Linked DNA regions of Homo sapiens: region 2 is linked to region 1. Evidence: promoter capture Hi-C in human tissues and cell types (Jung and others, 2019). All regions are on one chromosome and are shown on one strand. The core of a region is centred on a gene start or on the middle of the fragment in contact, and the rest is flanking DNA. Distances in the headings are between cores, read along the strand shown.

Region 1 (5,694 bases), core at 1,821-4,320:
GTGCGCCTCTAATCGCAGCTACTCAGGAGGCTGAGGCAGGAGAATCACTTGAACCCGGGAGGCGGAGGTTGCAGTGAGCCAAGATGGTGCCATTGCCCTCCAGCCTGGGTGACAGAACCAGACTCCGTGTGGGGAAAAAAAAAAAAAAGCAAAAGTATCTATTTCTTTCAGACAATAAACGTATTACTTTATTAATTCCATTTAAAATTATTTTGTAAACAATGAGTCATATGGGAGCACTTCTAAACAGTACCGAGTTTCATCTCATAAAATTTAGCATAAAACTCAAAAATCAATGTAACAGGATCTGAACACAGATATTCACTGTCACAAATTTACCCTGAAAAAAAAGAAACTGATGTTTTAATGAATCTATGTAACTCACCAATTATCCACCACATTTTCTTGTGGAAATGTATTCATTTTCCAAAACTAAAATTGAGAGATTTTGCCTGGGAGCATTCTAAAAGCTAAGCCTTGAAATTCTGTTTGAAATCACTCAGCCATAAAAAAAACACACCTGAGAAAATTCCTAACTCACTCTGGGAAAAACAGTAAATGAGAATTTTTAACAAATTTTTGACAAATGAAATACATGATCAGACATTTTTTTCTGAAACCCACCTCTTTCATGACCTTTGTAAATATTTTTCTACCTTTCAAGCCCTACTAATATAATGCAATTTACAGCTAAAAAACTGAGGTCAAAATAAGTGACAAATATCTTCAAGGTGACAAACCCAGGTAGTGGCAGTGCTGATTAAATAACAGATGTGTCTGACTCATGTTTCAAGTCAGGTCATTCAATCACTGGAGAGATTCTTCCACCCACTCCTGCTCACTTATGTGCTCAAGAACCACCCACTCAGAAGACACTGCATTATGCCCCAGTGACTGCCCCAGGTGCATTTTACTTTGCAAGCTCTTACACCATCTCACTGGGGTCAGTTCTGTTGTTGTTTGTCTTTTGGAATACTTTTTGGTAACAAAATTTTCACTTTTTTTTCCAATATTTTTCTTTATATTTATTTCACTATTTTTCTGCCCCCCTTAGATGATCCAGGGAGCAGAAATTATTTTTGTGTTTCCCCTCAATACCAGCATCTGATTGGCTGACCAGCAACGTGTCTCCAAGAAATGAAAGCTGGGTTGGGTGAAGACAATTTTAATGTCTCAAGGGGTTACCTTTTCAAAATAAGACTGCACCAGAAGACTCCTCTCAGCCCCAGGGCATCCACTTGCTCCCTTGAGAGGACACATTCCATACCTCGGGTCATCCTACGGGAGAAAATAAACCAGAAGCTGACATTCACTAGGCACTTTAGCTGACAGAACCATGGCGGATATCTCGGTTTATCCACAGATAGTACTGAAACCCAGGACCAGGAAAAAACTAAAGGGTGGCTGAGGACACATCACCCCATAGATTTTTCCAAATCAAAACCTTGACCCAAAAACATTCTGATAAATCTCTGTGCCTAGAGAAGGTAAAAGGAAAAGAGACACAGAGATTTTCTACAATACAGTGTCAGAGGATTAGTCTTTGTTTCCTTTTCGTGGGAAATATTTACAAGCGGATAACACATCTTCTTAAAAGCGCCATTTAATGCTTTGTCAAAAACAATTAATTAAAATATGGTATAAACAAGTACACTAAAGGACAAATAGGTGATAATGTGAATTAGGAAGGAAAAGTTGACATTTGGGAACGCCAGAAGAAATTGGAAATTTAGTATCTTACTGCAAGCCAGAGTGAGGCTGGAGAAATGGGGGACGGGGGTTAGACTTAACAACCTGCTTGGGACACAGGTGAAAAATGCAGCAGAAAATCAGTTCCCCGTGGAGTGTGAAAATAATTAAGAGACAGGCAATTCCACTGAGGTGTCTCTAGTCCCTGGGTTCCTACTTAAAAAAAAAAAAAATCTAACTCAGGTGCATTTTTTTTTTAATTACTACATTCAGAGAAAATGTAGGCTTAAACAACTATAAACTGTTAATTAACCTCTGATTACACAACCAGGAAATCTTCACCTGTATTGTACAAATCAAGAAACTACGTTACTGTAACCAATTACTAAATTTAGTTTTCTTCATCATACATTTTATAAATGACTTTCCTTCAAGCCTCTCCCATAGACAACAAACTACAAACCATAGCTGGATACTCTATGATTCTTGAATCACTGTTTGATTAAATTCTTTAGGCCAGGCGCGGTGGCTCACGCCTGTAATCCCAGCACTTTAGGAGGCCAAGGCGGGCGGATCACGAGGTCAGGAGTTCAAGACCAGCCTGGCCAACGAGGTGAAACCCCGTCCCAACTAAAAATACAAAAAAATAAGGCCGGCCCAGTGACAGGCGCCTGTAATCCCAGTTACTCGGGAGGCTGAGCCAGGAGAATCTCCAGAACCCGGGAGGCGGAGGTTGCAGTGAGGGGAGATCGCGCCACTAAACCCTAGCCTGGGCGACAGAGCGACTCCGTCTCAAACAAACAAAAAAATCGTTAATATTTGTGCAGTGACTCCCATACATTTTTAATAGGAGAAAAGAGGAACTGGGAAAGCCACGGACCAAAGATCTTCCCATTCATGAACCCGCACCCCGAGTCAGGATTTTCCCCTGACGACCCTCCCGTGGTCCCTGCACAATCTGAGAGAGACGCGGCGCTGCGGGTGCAGAGCTGCCAAGAGAGGGCTCCAGGCCAAGGCACAGTCACTACGCAGGGAAGAGAAAGGACGCCTGGGGTCCTGGCTGTCAGCGCAGCCGCCATCTTATGGCCGAAGGGGACGGAGGCCGAGCTGGGCAAGGCGCAGATTGTGAAGCTGACTGCGGAGAGGCCTGAGTCCCGCCACAGCTACTTCCCACCAGTTCCAACCAGCCCTTTCGCCGTCTCTCGGGATGTCGGACCGGGCACTCTCACCATTTCTAGGCTTCTAGGGGGTCCTGGCGTCTTAGCTGTGGATCTCCCAATATCTGCAGGTCAGAGGGCCACACAGGCTAGGCCCCTAGGAGCAGAAGACACAGAGAAGTGAGAGCAAAACCTGGAGCTCCGGCTACAGCGAGAGACAAAGACCCCGCCAAACCCGGAAGCCGTCCAGTCCGCTCCAGCTGCATGCCTGATTGGACGGTTTCCAGCCCAGCGTCCCTGGTTGGATAATGCTTAAATCCCCGCCCTGTCAGGCTTTGAGTGACAGAAGATGTGATCAGATGCGGGTTCAATGAAGAAAGAGTGACAGCCTAGACTGCCCCCTCTTCTGACAGGGCTTCCTCCCTCAGCTGAGCTAGGCCCATCCCAGAGAGTATTTGCCTTTAAATTTGTGTATAAGGTCATATGTATAAATAAATAATACATTATATAGCTATACACAAGTGAAAAGAATATAACAATTATTTTAAAATTTCAGCTTTTATGACCTTCCTGGCTTCTGGCCCTTTGAGCAGGCAGCCTGAGATTTTAGAAAAGAGAAAATCATCTAAAATGAATGTCAGCCACATGTGGATTTGAAATTTTCTAGTAGCCAAACTTTAAAAAGAAACAAGTTGAACTGATTGTTAACAATGTAATTCACCCATTATATTCAAAATATTATCATTTTAATGTGTGAGAAATATGTAATTATTGATAAAATATATAAATATTTGGAACTAAATCTTTGAAGCTGACTTTGTATTTTACCTTTCTAGCATATCGCATTTCAGACCAGGCACATTGTGGGAACCCAGTAGCCACACATGGACAATAGCTGTCACATTGAAGTGCAGCTCTGATGTCAGCGGTGTGAAGGGCCTGAACATCTCTTTCCTGCGAGAGTGAAAGAAGAGACTCTCCCTACAAACATCTCTCTTTGGTTCCTAGGGTGGACCAGATAGTTCCCATAGAAAGAGCTGAGGGCAGTAGGAATAAAATAGCCACAGGTAATAAACAACTGCTGGCCACCTGTTGCCCACCTTTCTTTTAGAGACCAGATAGTGAACAAAGGATGATGGGGCCACAGGAGAAAAAACAACTATGTCTTCAGTTCTGTCCACACACTTGAACTCCAGTATTTAGAGATGGAGAAAATAGATTAAAAACAAACATAGTTTGCTATATGGTCTTGGCCCTAACAATCAGGCTGTGTTTATCTGTTTTCTCCTGTGGTGTGGGGGACTATGTGAGTCTAAGCACCAATCACACGCATACATGTCTACAGGTATTTCTGCATTACCCAAAATTCTCTTACAAAACATCGAACTTTAAATCAGGGGAAGAAATCAGTACCTAGAGGGTGTCCACTGTTAGAAGCCAACTCTTAGTCAACCTGTCACTGAATCCTGGCAACTTATCTGTACTGGGTGCATGTATTAGTTAGCTATTGAGGCATAACAAATCATCCAAAACTTATTAGTTTATAATTGAAATGGTTGGCCATTTAGGCCGAGCTGAGTGGGGCCATTCTTCTGGTCTCAGCTGAGCTCCTTCAGACATGTATCATCACCTGCTTTTTGACTAGACAGCTGTGCATCTGGGGGTGAGCTTCTGCTCCTGGGTCTGTCAACAGGGGCACCTTGCTTCTCCTCTTCATGGTATCTTATTTTCCAGCTGGCTAACATGGGCATTATTCATGGAGATGGCAGCATTCTAAAAGAAAAAGAGAAGCAGTCAATACCATTTGAGCCTGGGCCCCAAACTGGCCCACTGTCATGTTCACAGGTTTCTGTTGACCTGAGCAAATAAGGTCAGCCAGATATAGGGCTTTGAAAACAGATTCCAGATCTTGATGGAAACAGCTGTAAAAGCACCTGGTTATGGGCAAAGATACAAGAGGGATGAAAAAATGTCATTTTGCAATCAGTATCATTCTACCTTTTTTGCATATGTGGTATATAGAACTCTTCCACATCAGGAAACTTGTGCAAAGTCCTACGGCTACTAAGTGGCTGGGCTGAGACTCAGGATCAACTTTATCTGACTCCAAAGCCCATGCACCTCCATAGATGACACTACTAAAGTAGCTGCCCTGCCCTAGACTATTGAAATCCTGGAGAGTGACACTTCCATAGTAGAAGTCAGATTCCTTTTAGATTTGTGCTCATTTGGGAATAATCCTCACAAAAATTGCAGAAGCACACGGTGGCTCTCACCTGTATTTTTAGTACTTTGGGAGGCTGATATGGGAGATTTATGTGAGCTTAGGAGTTCCAATGCAGCCTGATCAACATAATAAGATTCTGTTTCCATGACAAAAATGAAGAAATTAGCCACCCATGGTGGTGCATGCCTATAGTCCCAGATACTTAGGTGGCCGAGGCAGGAGGATTGCTTAAGCCTGGAAAGTCAAGGCTGCAGTGAGCTATGAGTAGTTACACCACTGCAATCAAGACTGGGTGACAGAGTGAGTCCCTGTCTCAAAAAAAAAAAAAGAAAGAAAAAAATTGGAGAAGCATTTTGAAAAGATATAAAATAATTTGGGGAAATAACTGAAGGATGAGTTTAGAAAATCAAAGACCAACAACACATTATTTATTTTTCATCATAGAAAATAGTTGAAATCCATTAAAAGGAAAAATCTTTAGAGAAATTAATAAATTTTTTAAATTTATTTTTTATTTTTGAGATGGAGTCTCGCTCTGTCACCCAGGCTGGAGCACAGCAGTGCGATCTTGGCTCACTGCAACCTCGGCCTCCCCAGTTCAAGCGATTCTCCTGCCTCAGC
Region 2 (5,694 bases), core at 2,287-4,786, 200 kb before region 1:
CTAAAATCTGATTTTTTTACCCTCCACTTGCCATTGCCCTCCCAACTTCTTTCTAATCTTGTTTGCTCCTCCCTATGAAAGAAAGCCCTTGTCTGCCTAAACTTTGCAATCCTTAAAGATCTTATAGTTGGTACTTCCTCCTGTTGCAATGCTCCTTTGTACACTGAATTTTCTTACATAAATCCAACTTTATTTTTAAAAGTCAAGAAACTGCCTCAAAACAGTAACAAGTTCATCTTTGGTAATATTCTCCCAGTCTCCTTTTATCTTAACCTTACTAGCATCTGCCTGTGGGTCCCCAGCTTTCCAGGGCTCTGTAGCTTCCCTCAGGATTAAGGCTTCTTTTATAGCTGGGCTGAGCAGGCTGGGACTTCTGCAGGGGAGGCTCCCCAGAAAGAACTAACTGGGCCCTTAATAACCTCCTTTTGCAGGCTCAACATTAGTTTTTTCTTGGAGTCACTGGGCTCAGGCTTTAATTTCCATGTCAGAGTTATACACTTGATTTTTGAAACTAAGTGTTTGAAAAATTCAGCAAAATTACTCAAACACAGTGTTCATACATGGAAAATAAATTATAAGGTGCTTACTTTTTTTTTTTTTTTTTTTTGAGACAGAGTCTCACTTTGTCACCCAGGCTGTAGTGCAATGGCACAGTCTTGGCTCAATGCAAACTCTGCCTCCTGGGTTCAAGTGATTGTCCTGCCTCCTCAGCCTCCTGAGTAGCTGGGACTACAGGTGCATGCCACCACACTTGGCTAACTTTGTATTTTACGTAGAGACGGGTTTCACTATGTTGGCCAGGCTGGTCTCGAACTCCTGACCTCGTGATCTGCCCGCCTTGACCTCTCAAAGTGCTGGGATTACAGGCATGAGCCATCGCACCTGGCCTACATTTTATACCTCAATAAGAACAGCAAAAGTATCTATTTCTTTCAGATAATAAATTTATTATTGTATTATTTCTATTAAAAATAATGTAGTAAACAATTAGTCATAGGGAAAAACTTCTAGGAGGTACCAAGTTTCATCTCATGAAATTTAGTATGAAACTCAGAAATCAAGATAACAGGATACAGAACAGAGATATTCACTCTCAGAAATTTACCCTGCAGAAAGAGGAACTAATGTTTTATAAATTTATGTAACTCACCAATTATCTACAATATTTCCTCGTGGAAATGTATTCATTTTCTACAGCCAAAATCGAAGGAGATTTTCCCTATTATTTTCCTTGGTAGCATTCTAAAAGCTGAGCCTTGGAATTCTGTTTGAAATCACCTACAGAAAACACACCTGAGAAAATTCCTAAACTCTCTCTGGGAAAGAAAAAGGTAAGTAAGAATTTTTAACATACGAAATATATGATTAGATATTAATATTTTTTGAAACCCACCACTTTTATGCCCTTTGTAAATGTTTTTGAACCTTTCAAGCTCTACTAATAAAATGCAATTTACAGTTTAAGAAATTGAAATCAATATAAGTGAACAAATCTTTTCAAGGTGACGAACCCAGGGTGTAGCAGTGATGATTAAAAAACAGATGTGTCTGACTTATGTGTCAAGTCAGGTCATCCAATCACGTGAGAGATTCTCCCACCCCAGCCTGCTCACTTAACTGCTCAATGACTAACCTCTCAGGAGACACTGCACTATGTTCCAGTGAGTGGCCCAGGTTTTACTTTCGGAAATTTTTGCAGCATCTCTCTGGGGTCAGGTTTTCTTTTGTTTTTTTTTTAGGGGGGATACTATTTTTTCTTTCACAAATCTTAGAGAATTCAGGGGACAGAAATTATTTCTGTTTTCCCCTTAATACCAGCCTCTGATTGGCTGACCAGCAATGTGTCACCAAGATATGAAAGCTGGGTTGGGTGAAAACAATGTTAATGTCTCAAGGGGTTACTTTTTTAAAGGAAGAGCACACCAGGAGATTTCTCTCAGCCCCAGTGCATCCATCTGCTTCCTTGAGAGGCTACACTCCATACCTCAGGCTGTCCTATGAAAGAAAATGACCCAGGACCTGAGATTCCCTAGACACTCTAGCAGACATAGCCATGGCTGATATAATGGTTTATTCACAGACAGTACTGAAACCGATGACCAAGAAAAAACTAAAGGGTGGTTGAGGACACATCACCCAATAAAGCTTCCCCCCGCCAAAAAAAAACCTTTACCCCAAAGCATTCTGGTAAGATCTCTGCCTAGGGAAGGTAAAAGGAAAAGAGGCACAGAGATTTTACACAACACAGTGTCAGGGGTTATTCTTTGCTTTCTTCTCATGGGAAATATTTACAAACAGAAAATGAATCTTTTAAAATGTGCCATCCAGTGGTTTGTAAAAAAAAATACAGTATTGAAAATATACACTAAAGGACAAATAGATGACAATGTGAACTAGGGAAACGAGGCTGGCATTTGGGATTGTCAGAAGGAACTGGAAATTTAGTATTTTACTTCAAGCCTGAGTTAGGCTGGAGGAATGGGGGATGAGGGCTAGACTTGAGACCGCACTTGGGACACATTTAAAAAATTCAGGGGAAAAAAAAAATCAGTCTCTTGTGAAGTGTGTATCCTCAAACATATATTTTTTTTTTTTGTAAATTTTTGTAAATTGCATTGGGGAAAACAAAATTTAAGCTTAACCAACTAACTATAAATGGCCAATTAAGCTCTGATTACATAACCAGAAAATTTACACACTCAAAGTGGAAATTAAGAAAGTACGTGACTCCCTGTAGTCCCAGCTGCTCGGGAGGTTGAGGCAGGAGAATCGCTTGACACCGAGAGGTTGCAGTGAGCTGAGATCGCGCCACTGCACTTCAGCCTGGGTGACAGAGCAAAACTGTCTCAAAAAAAAAAACAAAAAAAAGTAGGTAACTGTACCTAACCGATTATTGAATTTGTTTTTTTTTTTTTAATCATGGACCTTATAAAAGTCTTTCCTTCAAGTTCCTCCCATGAACCACAAACTAAAACCCATAGCTGGGTACTCTACAATTTTTGAGCCACTCTTTGATTAAATTCTTTAATCTTTTTGCGGTGACTCCATAAATTTTTAATAGATGAAAAGAGGGACTAGGAACCCCACCGACCAAAACTCTTCCCATTCATGAACCCTCACCCGAGTCGGGATTCTCCCCTGACTACCCTCCCATGGTCCCTGCACAATTGGCCAGAGACAAGGCGCTGCGGCTGCAGAGCTGCCCAGAGAGGCCTCCAGGCCAGGGGACCATCACTGGGTCACTGTGCAGACAGGACGCCCAGTGTGGGGAAAAGCAAGAGAGATCAGATTGTTACTGTGTCTGTGTAGAAAGTAGACAGACATAGGAGACTCCATTTTGTTTTGTACTAAGACAAATTCTTCTGCCTTGAGATGCTGTTAATCTATAATCTTACCCCCAACCCTGTGCTCTCTGGAACATGTGCTGTGTCAAACTCAGGGTTAAATGGATTAAGGGTTGTGCAAGATGTGCTTTGTTAAACAGATGCTTGAAGGCAGCACGCTCCTTAAGAGTCATCACCACTCCCTAATCTCAAGTACTCAGGGACACAAAAACTGCGGAAGGCCGCAGGGACCTCTGCCTAGGAAAGCCAGGTATTGTCCAAGGTTTCTCCCCATGTGATAGTCTGAAATATGGCCTCGTGGGAAGGGAAAGACCTGACCGCCCCCCAGCCCGACACCCATGAAGGGTCTGTGCTGAGGAGGATTAGTATAAGAGGAAGGCATGCCTCTTGCAGTTGAGACAAGAGGAAGGCATCTGTCTCCTCCCTGTCCCTGGGCAATGGAATGTCTCGGTATAAAACCTGATTGTACGTTCCATCGACTGAGATAGGAAAAAACCACCTTAGGGCTGGAGGTGGGACATGTGGGCAGCAATACTGCTTTGTAAAGCATTGAGATGTTTATGTGTATGCACATCTAAAAGCACAGCACTTGATTCTTTACCTTGTCTATGATGCAAAGACCTTTGTTCATGTGTTTGTCTGCTGACCCTCTCCCCACTATTGTCTTGTGACCCTGACACATCCCCCTCTTGGAGAAACACCCATGAATGATCAATAACTACTAAGGGAACTCAGAGGCTGGTGGAATCCTCCATATGCTGAACGCTGGTTCCCTGGGTCCCCTTATTTCTTTCTCTATACTTTGTCTCTGTGTCTTTCTCTTTTCCAAGTCTCTCCTTCCACCTAACGAGAAACACCCACAGGTGTGGAGGGGCAACCCACACCTTCAGCCCAGGGTCCTGCTGTCAGCGCAGCCACCATGCTATGGCTGAAGAGGACTGAGGCTGAGTTGGCCAAGGAGAACTCGGGGCGCAGACTGTGGAGCTGACTGACGGGAGACCCGAGTCCCACCACAGCCACTTGCCACCAGTTCCAATCAACTCCTTCCCTTTTCTCAGGATGTCGGACCCGGCACTCTCACCATTTCTAGGCTTCCAGGGGGTCCTGGCATCTTAGCTGTGGATCTCCCAATACCTGCAGGTCACAAAGTCACGGAGACTGGGCCTCTGAAGACTAGACGTAGAACTCCAGCTGCAGCCGGAGACAAAGGCCCCCATATTCCGGAAGCTGTCTTGCCCGCTCCAGCTGCGTGGCTGATTGGAGGGTTTCCAGCCCAGTGTTGCTGATTGGATAACGCTTAAATCCCCGCCTCCTCACATCGTGATTGACAGAAGATGTGACCAAACGCTAGGCTGAATGAAGAAAGAGTGACTGCCTAAGCTGCCGCCCGCTCAGAAAGGGCTTCGTCCCTGAGCTGAGCCAGGCCCACCCTAGAGGGTGTTTGCATGTAATCTTGTGTATAAGGTTATATGCATTTATAAATATTATACTGTATGGCTATTCACAAATGAAAAGAATATAATAATAATGATTTTGAAATTTCAGGTTTTATAACCTTCCTGGCTTTGAGAAGGCAGCATGAGATTTTTTGTCTTTGTTTTTGTTTTTTGAGACGGAGTCGCTCTGTTGACCAGGCTGGAGTGCAGTGACGCGATCTCGGCTGACTGAAAGCTCCGCCTCCCGAGTTCACGCCATTCTCCTGCTTCAGTCCCCTAAGTAGCTGGGACTACAGGCGCCTGCCACCATGCCTGGCTAATTTTTTGTATTTTTCGTAGAGACACGTTTCACCGTGTTAGCCAGGATGGCTCGATCTCCTGACCTCGTGATACGCCCACCTCGGCCTCCCAAAGTGTTGAGATTACAAGCGTGAGACACTGCATCCGTCTGTTGTAACAATTTAATTAAAGCAATATATCCAAAATATTATTTTAATATGTGAGCAATGTATAATTATGAATGAGATATATATTTATATATAACATAATTATGTATCTATATATTGCATTATGCTATGTATTTTTATCCATATTATATATAGATATTTTTATCTATATGTTGTATATTTTTATATTTATGGAACTAAATCTTTGAAACTAACTCTGCATTTTACCTTTCTTGCAAATTGCAGCTCAGACCAGCCACATTCCAGGCTCCCAGGAGTCACACATGGTCAATACCTGTCACATTGAAGTGCAGCTCTGTTGTCAGGTCTGTGAAAGGCCTGAATATCCCTTTTCTTCCTGTTAGGAATAACGCTCAAAATCATAAGGAAATTGAACACTCGAACAAAGGATTCCTAGCAAAGCAATTTTAGTTCTGCACAGAGGGGTGCGTTCTTGTCCAGTCACCA

The links. Contacts are between HindIII fragments. The study calls those that stand out against the background at their distance.
Region 2: a contact is called between a fragment that was not itself captured here and the fragment with the promoter of ZNF100 in region 1, in 2 of the 25 tissues and cell types used here (aorta and bladder).

What each region holds. Positions count from the first base shown.
Region 1 is chr19:21,764,509-21,770,202 of GRCh38, forward strand. It overlaps ZNF100 (zinc finger protein 100), which reads right to left and starts at 3,071. Exons shown (of 5, transcript NM_173531.4): 1 at 2,919-3,071; 2 at 1,186-1,278. The coding sequence starts at 2,921. RefSeq lists a silencer at 3,058-3,235. The HindIII fragment of the contact is 21,319 bases long and covers 1-5,694 here.
Region 2 is chr19:21,564,679-21,570,372 of GRCh38, forward strand. It overlaps LOC124904670 (a long non-coding RNA gene), which reads right to left and starts at 4,578. Exons shown (of 2, transcript XR_007067182.1): 1 at 1,151-4,578. LOC101929007 (a long non-coding RNA gene) reads right to left here. Exons shown (of 4, transcript XR_007067176.1): 4 at 5,224-5,694. The HindIII fragment of the contact is 5,586 bases long and covers 744-5,694 here.